2 separate regions of the Homo sapiens genome follow, and region 1 is linked to region 2. The links are contacts of gene promoters, found by promoter capture Hi-C in blood cells and fetal thymus (Javierre and others, 2016). All regions are on one chromosome and are shown on one strand. Each heading gives the region's core, a stretch centred on a gene start or on the middle of the fragment in contact. The rest is flanking DNA. Distances are from core to core; before and after follow the strand shown. Region 1 overlaps LOC105370103 (a long non-coding RNA gene). Region 2 holds the start of SKA3 (spindle and kinetochore associated complex subunit 3).

What was found. Contacts are between HindIII fragments. The CHiCAGO score rates a contact against its expected background, and 5 or more counts as called.
Region 1: a fragment that was not itself captured here is called in contact with the fragment with the promoter of SKA3 in region 2 in 1 of 17 cell types (monocytes); the score reaches 5.5 in monocytes.

Annotation. Positions count from the first base shown.
Region 1 is chr13:20,546,496-20,552,017 of GRCh38, forward strand. LOC105370103 (a long non-coding RNA gene) reads right to left here. Exons shown (of 6, transcript XR_941725.3): 6 at 5,139-5,522. Among named protein-coding and RNA genes, the nearest start is that of IFT88, 18 kb to the right of the region's middle. The HindIII fragment of the contact is 9,139 bases long and covers 1-5,522 here.
Region 2 is chr13:21,173,629-21,178,813 of GRCh38, forward strand. SKA3 (spindle and kinetochore associated complex subunit 3) reads right to left here and starts at 2,924. Exons shown (of 9, transcript NM_145061.6): 1 at 2,747-2,924. The coding sequence starts at 2,849. It overlaps MRPL57 (mitochondrial ribosomal protein L57), which reads left to right and starts at 3,030. Exons shown (of 2, transcript NM_024026.5): 1 at 3,030-3,089; 2 at 3,284-5,185. The coding sequence starts at 3,289. The coding sequence ends at 3,597. RefSeq lists enhancers at 997-1,719, 2,442-3,164, 3,180-3,499. The HindIII fragment of the contact is 19,534 bases long and covers 1-5,185 here.

The DNA of each region.
Region 1 (5,522 bases), core at 2,506-5,005, 630 kb before region 2:
ATGTGTAAGAGAATAATAATGCAGGTCATGATAAGTGTTATGTAGGAAATAAAGAGGTCAAGGGGATTAAGGATGATGGAAGTGAGGAAGATGGTTTTGGGAATCAATGGTGAAGAAAACCTCTCCTGGGCAGTGAGGTTTCAAGCGCTCAAATAGCTCTACAGACCTAGAGCAATGCCAAATCCTATGCTCTCTTCACCACAAATTATCTGAAACTTCCTCTTCTTTTACATAGCCCAGCCCTGCTTCCTCTCTGAAGCTGTGGCTACTCCACCCATAATAGAAATTAACTGCTTAAAGTAGTAAAAAGAACTCTGTACAGCATGTGTAATTGAACTAGATTCACTGAACTAGAACAACTCATGGGATGTAATTCAAGCCCAACTTTATTTTTGTCTCCCTTTCCCCTTTTAAAACTTAGGTGGGGCCCTGATTTTTCTGATCACTTTGGGGAAATAAAAGCCTAAGGGTAATTTAAGTTGCAAATACAGTCTTAATTAGGTCATTAAATCTCCCCTCTTGCCAGCTGGGACCAGTCGCAGAGGAACACTTTGAAGGTGAAATCCCAACTCTCCATCCTTTACCCCAATACTAGTAAGAGATCAAAAAGTTCCAAAACATTCTGGACCACCTACTTTGAAAAAATGCACATTGGTCTGGCAATTCATTTTTACATCTGTGATCTGTTATCTTAGGGCATCAGCCGTAATCCCCAACTTAACGTGTTGCTACATAGGTAACAGTATACAAGTCAATATCAGAAAGGCAAAACTGTGCGGTGGTTAAAAGTGTGAGCTCTGGAGTCAGATTGCCAGGGTCTGAATCTCAAATTCATATTTTGCTACTTGCATGATTTTATTTTTATTTTTATTTATTTTTTCTGGAGATGGAGTCTTGCTCTGTCGCCCAGGCTGGAGTGCAATGGCTTGATCTCCTCACTGCAACCTCCACCTCCCGGGTTCAAGCAATTCTCCTGCCTCAGCCTCCCAAGTAGCTGGGACTACAGGCGCACACTGCTATGCCTGGCTAATGTTTTGTATTTTAGTAGAGACAGGGTTTCAATATGTTGCCCAGACTAGTCTTGAACTCCTGAGCTCAGGCAATCCGCCCATCTTGGCCTCCCAAAGTGCTAGGATTACAGATGTGGGCCACCGTGCTTGGCTAGTTGCATGATTTTAGACAAGTTAGTTCCTCAAAACTCAGCCTTTTCAGCAGTACAATGGTCATAATAGAGGTTCCCTCTTAAAGGGTTATTGTTAATGATTAACTGATAGAATCCATTCTAAAATGTGCTTGGCACATGGCCAGTGTTGGATCATTCTGTGTCCTCTGTAGTATCACGCAGCAGCTCTTCCTTACACATACTCTCACTTGGCCCTCCCTGGCACCTCCCTGGCATATGTAAAGCAGATTCCAGCCCCACCATTCTACAGGTGACAGCCCCAAGACTTCCAGGCCACTTAGCAGGTCCATCTCAGACCAGATCTTTCCTTTCTAGTCAAAATGTCTTGAATTATATATTTATCCTAAACTTGAACAGTGTTTTACAAAAGATGAATTTGAAAACTCAGGCATAGTCTCCAGGAACATGCAAAGGCATTGCAGGGTCATAGCAAACTAGTTCATAAAACCAGTGCACACGTCGCTGCTTATGTCTGTTCCTATCCCCTGTCTAAACACACTGGTCATAGGTCCTTCTCCTCCTGTCCACTTCTGACATCCTTTAAAATATCACAAGTAATAGCTTACATTAATACTGCACTTTACAAATGCTTTCTGATCATCCATCCCTTGCCTATATTTATTTTGCTTAGAAAGGAAGGTCGGGCAAGGTGGCTCACGCCTGTAATCCCAGCACTTTGGGAGGCTGAGGCAGGATTGCTTGAGCCCAGGAGTTCGAGATCAGCCTGGGCAGTATGTCAAGATCCTATATCTATGAAAAAAAAATTTTTTTTTTAATTATCCAAACATGGTGCTATGTGCCTGTGGTCACAGCTACTAGGGAGGCTGAGGTAGGAGGATTGCTTGAGCCCAGCAGGTCAAGATGGCAGTGAGGTTTGATTGTGCCACTTCACTCTAGCCTGAGCAACAGAGTGAAACCTTATTCCCACCCCTGCAAAAAAAAGAAAGAAAAAAGAAAGGGAGGGAGGGAGGGAGGAAGGGAGAGAGAAAAGAAGAGAGGGGGAAAGGAAGATGACAATTTCTGAAATGAACAAAACATAAGAGAAACGTTACTTTGGTAAAACTGCTCCACAAGAAAAGGGTGTTGCATTTTTCAGCTGTAGTTGCCCAAGCCAGAAAGCTCATAGTCCTGAACAAGGAACAAAATAATTTAAACATGTCACAAAGTGAATCAGGAATTTATTTTTTCTCTAAAACCCTTTCCTCCTTAACATCACAGTACTTTTGATACATTACTTTTCGGGGGATCCAAAGATGGAAGACAGTGTGTATGTGTGTGGGAGACTTTTGGGGTGACAGAAAGATGTTCCTAAAACTGAAGAATTCCTCCCCATATATATTAATCACATTTGTACCTGTGGTTCCATGAGGCCTAGGGAAGCATGTATTACACTATCTTATTTATACTACACATATTAGACTGAATGTTTATGTCTCCCCAAATTCATACATTGGAATCCCTACCCCCACCGTGATGTTATCAGAAAGCAAGGCCTCTGGGTTGTGTTAGGTCATGGGGCAGAGCCCTCATGCCCAGGATTAGTGCCCTTATGAGAGTGGCCCGAGAAACCCCTCATCCCTTTCAGTATGTGAGGAGACCATGAGAAGATGGCTGTCTATGAACCTGGAAGTGGGCCCTGTCCAGACACTGAAACTGCCAATGCCTTGATCTTGGACCCCTCAGCCTCCAGAACTGTGAGAAATAAATGTCTGTTATTATAAGCCACCCAGTCTATAGCATTTTTGTTTTTTAGAGAGGGGTCTTGCTATGTTACTCAAGCTGGACTGAAACTCCTGGACTCAAGTGTCCTCCTACCTCAGCTTCCCAAGTATCTAGGACAACAGATGCATACATACCACCATGCTCCGCTCAGTCTACAGCATTCTGTTATAGCGGCCAGAATGAACGAAGACACTATATTGCACATGTAATATAATATATGAACAAAGAACAAGTATTTTGGAAGCCAGAATTTCAATACTTATTATTTTAAGACAGGGTCTTACTCTGTCACCCAGGCTGGAGTGCAGTGGCACGATCTTGGCTCATTGCAGCCTCTACCTCTCGGGTTCAAGCGATTCTCCAGCCTCATCCCTGGAGAAGCTGGGACCACAGGCATGCACCACCACACCGCACACCCTGCCCCCCGCCACCAATTTTTGTATTTTTAGTAGAGGCAGGGTTTTGCCATGTTGCCCAGGCTGGTCTCAAACTCAGCTCAAAGAAATCAGCCCACCTTGGCCTCCCAAAGTGCTGGGATTACAGGCGTGAGCCACTGTGCCTGGCTCAATATATATTATTGATCATTCTTTTTTTTTCTTTACTTATTAAACTGCATTGGTTCACTTTCACTAATAGTCTGGATTTGATTTTATACAGCCCTAGAGCCAATGGTAGTCCATTTCATACCTTTGTGTAAATCAGAGAAAGGTACTTCTTCATCAAGACATTGTACTCTCCTCTACAGAAAATTGTCATAATGTATTGTTTTTTGGTTTTTTTTTTTGAGACAGAGTCTTGCTCTGTCACCAGGCTGGAGTGCAGTGGTACGATCTCAACTCACTGCAACCTCTGCCTCCTGGGTTCAAGCGATTCTCCTGCCTCAGCCTCCCAAGTAGCTAGGACTACAGGCGTGCGTCACCACACCCGGCTAATTTTTCTATTTTTAGTAGAGATGGGGTTTCACCATGTTGGTTGGCCAGGATGGTCTCGATCTCTTGACCTCGTGATCTGCCCACCTCAGCCTCCCAAAGTGCTGGGATTACAGGTGTGAGCCACCTGGCCTGGCCCCTTGATTTTTTTTAAGAACAAGATACTTTGTGTGGGAGACTGCCACAGTTACTACTTGAGACCATCGCTACAACAGTTACTACTGTTACTACTTGAGACAGTTACTACTGTTACTACTTGAGACAGTTACTACTGTTACTACTTGAGACAGTTACTACTGTTACTACTTGAGACCGTCTTTATGAGACTGAAAGAAGGGATGAACGTGGAAATGAAAACTTAAGACAAAAGTAACTGTTTTAAAGGAAGGGTCCAGGGGAAGAAGAAGAGAGCTCCCTGCTTCTAGTGAGCAAAGGCAGCCTCGAGCTTCTTCAGCCCTTCATATTTATTGGGTATAAAGAGCAGGGAGGAGGAGGTAGATTGGTCAGCTGCTTAATTGATCACAGGTTCACATTATTGCTAACAGGATTCAGTTGTGCCTAATCACAAGAAACACTCGTGCCTGGGTTGTGACTGCCCTCAGCATTCCTACTGGGCGGCAGGCACAGTTTGTCAGTTTACCAACATCCTGCTTTCACGAGAACAGTTTGCTGTTTGCTCATATAGCCGCCAGTGGTGCACTGAGTTGACCACGACCCTCATTCTTTCAGCCTCCAACAACTTTACTGCCATCTTCTGGAAAATTGTTTTTATTTTTGTTATAAGTACCAAATCTGTGATGTATATAATGTGAGCAACACCTCCTTAAATGTGTCCTTGTGCAGTGCACAACCCACAACCTATACAACCATATGTCACAGAGGCTATGATGTGTATGATATTGTCTAGGGAAACTGATGTGCTTGAGTATAACTATGTCCAGAGAGATAGTAGGTTCTTGTCAGAAAATTAGGGTTTCATAACCACTTATAATTACTGTAGCTTTTTCCCAAATTACTTCCAACTTCACTTACAGAAAATGTCACTTATGGATTTTATCTTTGTCTAGATTCAGGATTCTAGGGGTGGTAGGAGGATGAGTAAGAGGAAGGGAGATGGAGATCCTGAATTTGAGAAATCTACAAAAATTAGAAGCTGAGAAGCTAAATCAACAAGCATGTAGACTTGCTGAAGGAAACAGGCCAATTAAGATCTTCACCCTGGATGACCCCTTGACTTTCTTCACTGGGGTTTCAGAGAAAGTATTTAGATGCCCGTTTCAAAGTCATTACTGGATAAAGACACATTTGCAATGAAAAAGAAAGATTTTATTTGCCTTTTCTTCTCACAGTTCAATAATTTTGCATATAAGACTTGGTTTTAAAAATACAAAATGATGATTCTCAAAGTAAATGAACCACCTCAAAAAGACAAAAACCTACCATCTTCCGAAAGAACTCTCACTTTCCTCGGCATTAAACACACTCAAACCAGTGGAATCAATGGGAAACTAACAATGTTTTTGCAGAGTGACATCCCATTAGTCACAAGGGGAATTTTGAAAAGCACACGTAAGCATAACATTAATTCATTTCCCAGCATTCTGTATTGTAGTAGCCTAGAGATTTAAAAGAAATTACCTCACTTGTCTTTAAAAACTACACTCTACCTTTGAACAATTAGCAGATTG
Region 2 (5,185 bases), core at 1,674-4,173:
ATGTACTCTTTTGCGACTGGCTTCTTTCACTCAACTGTTACATTCTTCCACGTTCGTAATCTAATCCATGTTCATTATTGTGTAGCATTTCCACTGCGTGATACCATATTTATTTATTCTATTGTTGAAACACTTTGGATTGTGCCTAGTTTGGAATTATTATGAATACTCTTGCTTTGAACTTCCTAGAACATGTCTTTGGTACCAACGTATTCATATTTCTGTATGTTAAGAGACTCAGAAAAAGTGCTGGATTATATGTTATGCATATGCTCAACTTCAGTAAATACTGCTAGTTTTCCAACATGATTTTTACAGTTCACACTCCCACCAGCAGTGCATAAGAAGTGCATTTGTTCCTGCTCATCATCACTGGCCATCAGAGAAATGCAAATCAAAACCACAATGAGATACCATCTCACACCAGTTAGAATGGCAATCATTAAAAAGTCAGGAAAAAACAGGTGCTGGAGAGGATGTGGAGAAATAGGAACACTTTTACACTGTTGGTAGGACTGTAAACTAGTTCAACCATTGTGGAAGACAGTGTGGCAATTCCTCAAGGATCTAGAACTAAAAATACCATTTGACCCAGCCATCCCATCACTGGGTATATACCCAAAGGATTATAAATCATGCTGCTATAAAGACACATGCACACTTATGTTTATTGCCGCACTATTCACAATAGCAAAGACTTGGAACCAACCCAAATGTCCATCAATGATAGACTGGATTAAGAAAATGTGACACATATACACCATGTGCAGCCATAAAAAAGGATAAGTTCATGTCCTATGTAGGGACATGGATGAATCTGGAAACCATCATTCTCAGCAAACTATTGCAAGGACAAAAAACCAAACACCGCATGTTCTCACTCATAGGTGGGAATTGAACAATGAGAACACTTGGACACAGGAAGGGGAACATCACACACTTGGGCCTGTCATGGGGTGAGGGAAGGGGGGAGGGATAGCATTAGGAGATATACCTAATGTAAATGACGAGATAATGGGTACAGCACACCAACATGGTGCATGTATACATATGTAAGAAACCTGCACGTTGTGCACATGTACCCTAGAACTTAAAAGTATAATAATTTTAAAAAAAGAAAAAAAAAGTGCGTACTGCTCCAACAACAACAACAACAACAACAAAAAGCGCATTTGTTCCACATCTTTCCAAACACTTGGTAATTTTCTCTTTTTCGTTTTAGCTATCCTGCTGGGTATGCAACTGTACTACATTGAGATTTAATTTGCATTTCCTTGATGACTAATGAAATTTGCATTTCCTTGATGACTAATGAAATTGATGTCTTTTCACATTCCTGATGACCATCTGAAGATAGTTTTTTCTTTCTTAGATGGAGTCTAAGATCGCTCAGGCTGGAGTGCAGTGGCGCGATCTCGGGTCACTGCAACCTCCGCTTCCAGGGTTCAAGCGATTCTCCCACCTCAGCCTCCGAGTAGCTGGGATTACAGGCGCCCACTACTATGCCCAGCTAATTGTTTTGTATTTTTAGTAGAGACGAGGTTTCACCACGTTGGCCAGGCTGGTCTTGAACTCCTGACCTCGGGCGATCCACCCACCTCGGCCTCCCAAAATGCTGGGATTACAGGCGTGTGCCACCGTGCACGGCCAAATCTTTTTTTCTTTTTGAGACGGACTCTTGCTCTGTCGCCGAGGCTGGAGTGCAGTGGCGGATCTCGGCTCACTGCAAGTTCCGCCTCCCGGGTTCACGCCATTCTCCTACCTCAGCCTCCCGAGTAGCTGGGACTACCGGCGCCCGCCACCACGCCCGGCTAATTTTTTGTATTTTTAGTAGAGACGGGGTTTCACCGTGTTAGCCAGAATGGTCTCGATCTCCTGACCTTGTGATCCGCCCGCCTCAGCCTCCCAAAGTGCTAGGATTACAGGCGTGAGCCACCGCGCCGGGCAGAAATAGACATTTTCAAGTGACTGGAGATCATTCATTATATAATTAAAGTAAAAGTAGTCTGCAGGGTGTAATATTTTAAAGCACATTACAATTATGACATTTATGAAATAATTCCAAAATCTGAACTACTTTTTCAACAATTTAAAAAATCTCTAATAAAAAGGGGAATGGTGAATTTTGCTTTATTTATATACACATATTTTTTTAAACCCCAGCACTGTTGAGTACTAGTGTTTGTGTTGGCAACATGGTTTAGCGGGAAAAACACAGAGGTTTACTGCAACTGTGGACCACGTGAGTGAGAAAAAAGTCACTATATGTGTAAAGTATTGTGTAAAGAACGTTAAATAGCTTGATTCTAAGAGAAACTGTTTAGGTTTACATGGTATTTTACTGACAAGCACACATATTGTATGTGACGAAAGCATATCACGTATAAATTAGTATATGTATTATGAGCTCAATCTGTTAATTTAGGTTCTTATTCTTAAGTGCTGCTGTCTCTGTTTATAACGTAATAGTGCTACTTTCATTATCTCAAGAGAGCCGTGGGGTTGTACATGGGTCTAAAACGGACACGCGACAAGGGTTCCTAGGAATAAACCATAAACAGGCCCGGGAGCTACGCTAACGCCAAACGCCGAGCAGTGAGACGCGCAGCACCCGCCCTGCGCCTCGGTGGCAGCCGTCCACGCCGTCAGTGCCTGGCGGTTCCCGTGGGACATACCGTCCACTCGCCACGCCCCTCCGCCCGCGGCGCACCCCACGCACCGTGCCCTGGCCGCCCGCCTCACGCACCGCTTTCCTCTCCGTCCAGCGCTCGCTGCAGCCGGGCCGTCTCGCAGTCCAGCGTGCTGGCCAGAGACCGCAGCTTCCCGCAGAAGCTCCGGATAGGGTCCATGCTGAGCACAGCGGGGAAGGACTCCAGGCGTACGCAGACCCCACCGCTCAGCTCACAGCCTCCCGCCACTAGTTTGAATCTCGGCGCCGGACGCGTCCTCGGCTCTGCGCAGGCGCAGTCCTCTCTCGCGAGAGCCGAAGTCTCTCGCCGAGGCCCCAGGAGACCCCGCGAGACGGGTGCGCTTACGCCACGGCGTCTGCTGGCGGCCGCGGAGACGCAGAGTCTTGAGCAGCGCGGCAGGTGAGTAGCTGTGCGAATTCGGTTCTCTAGGGAGCTCCTTCTTCGCCTGCTGGCCTTACCTGGGCTCCCCGCTTCTCTGGAGGGGAGGCGGTGCGGGAACTCCCGTAGGCGTGAGCTGGAGCGCGCGCCCGCTGCTCTCTCCAGGTCCGGCCGCGCCAGTTCGCCTCCGCAAAGCCCGTCCCTCTCTTCCGCAGGCACCATGTTCCTGACTGCGCTCCTCTGGCGCGGCCGCATTCCCGGCCGTCAGTGGATCGGGAAGCACCGGCGGCCGCGGTTCGTGTCGTTGCGCGCCAAGCAGAACATGATCCGCCGCCTGGAGATCGAGGCGGAGAACCATTACTGGCTGAGCATGCCCTACATGACCCGGGAGCAGGAGCGCGGCCACGCCGCGGTGCGCAGGAGGGAGGCCTTCGAGGCCATAAAGGCGGCCGCCACTTCCAAGTTCCCCCCGCATAGATTCATTGCGGACCAGCTCGACCATCTCAATGTCACCAAGAAATGGTCCTAATCCTGAGTCGTCACCCTTGGATTTTATGGATCACGGAGCTGACCATCTTTACCTGGTCCTGGAACTGAAAAACTGTAGCTTGTGTGAAAATGAGCCTTTGGACCAGTCTTTATTAAAACAAACAAACATGAGTAGTCTGCATATCGAATATCTAGAGCTCTAAACCCCCAATACTTAAAAGTCTAATTGCTGTCCTGTGGTTTCATTAGTCTGATAGGAAGATAGGGATTTCCTCAGTCACAGATGATATTTTGAAGGAAAGCTGCAATAAAGCCACAATGATTTGAGGTCTTTGCTTAAGTATGAGATACTTGATGGGGGCTTTATCATGCAACATTAGTTTGCTTACCTTAAGAATTGCCCAAAAATGAAAGAAAATATGAGCTTTTCAGTTAAACATACTCCTAAAAACATTTTCCGGGATTTTACTACTAAAATTGGACATTTAAGCGAAGTAAAAGAGGCCGGGTGCGGTGGCTCACGCCTGTAATCCCAACACTTTAGGAGTCCAAGGCGGGCGGATCACTTGAGGTCAGGAGTTCAAGACCAGCTTGGCCAAGGTGATAAAACCCGTCTCTACTAATACAAAAAAAATTAGCTGGGTATGTTGGTGCAGGCTTGCAATCCCAGCTACTTGGGACGCTGAGGTGGGAGGATCGCCTGAACCTCAGAGGCAGAGGTTGCAATGAAGCGGAGGTTGCAGTGAGCCGAGAGCATGCCGCTGCACTCCAGCCTGGGAGACTGCATCTCAAAAAAGAAAAATAAACGAAGTAAAAGATATTTATCAGAGCTGTTACAGGAAGGTGTATTTTTTAGCTATTTTGGCAGGGTGCTGTGGTGCTTGCATGTAGTCCCAGCTATTCAGGAATATTGCTTGAGTCCAGCTTGGGCAACATAGCGAGACCCTATCTAAAATAACAATAATATATGGCCAGGCGGGATGGCTCACGCCTGTAATCCCAGCACTTTGGGAGGCTGAGGCGGGCAGATCACTTGAGGCCAGGAGTTCAAGACCAGCCCAACCAACATGGTGAAACCCTGTCTCCACTGAAAATACATAAAATTAGCCGGGTGCAGTGGTGAGGCCTGTAATCCCAGCTACTCAGGAGGCTGAGGCAGGAGAATCGCTTGCACCCAGGAGGTGGAGGCTGCAGTAAGTCGAGATTGTGTCACTGCACTCTAGCCTGGGCGACAGAAAAAGAAAATTTAGGTGGGGAAAAAAATCAGAATTGCGTCTGTGGGAACAGGAATAAAGGAGAAACCACTATTGACTGGGAAGACACACAAAGAACTTTGTCAAAGTTGTATGGCTGAGGCCCACACGGTGGCTCACTTCTGTAATCCCATCACTTTGGGAGGCTTAGGCAGAAGGATCACCTGAGATCAGGAGTTCCAGACCAGCCTGGCCAACATGGCGAAACCCCATCTCTACTAAAAATACAAAAATTAGCCGGGCGTGGTGGCTTACGCCTGTAATCCCAGCACTTTGGGAGGCCAAGGTGGGCGGATCACAAGGTCAGGAGTTCGAGACCAGCCTGGCCAATATGGTGAAACCCCATCTCTACTAAAAATATAAAAATCAGCAAAA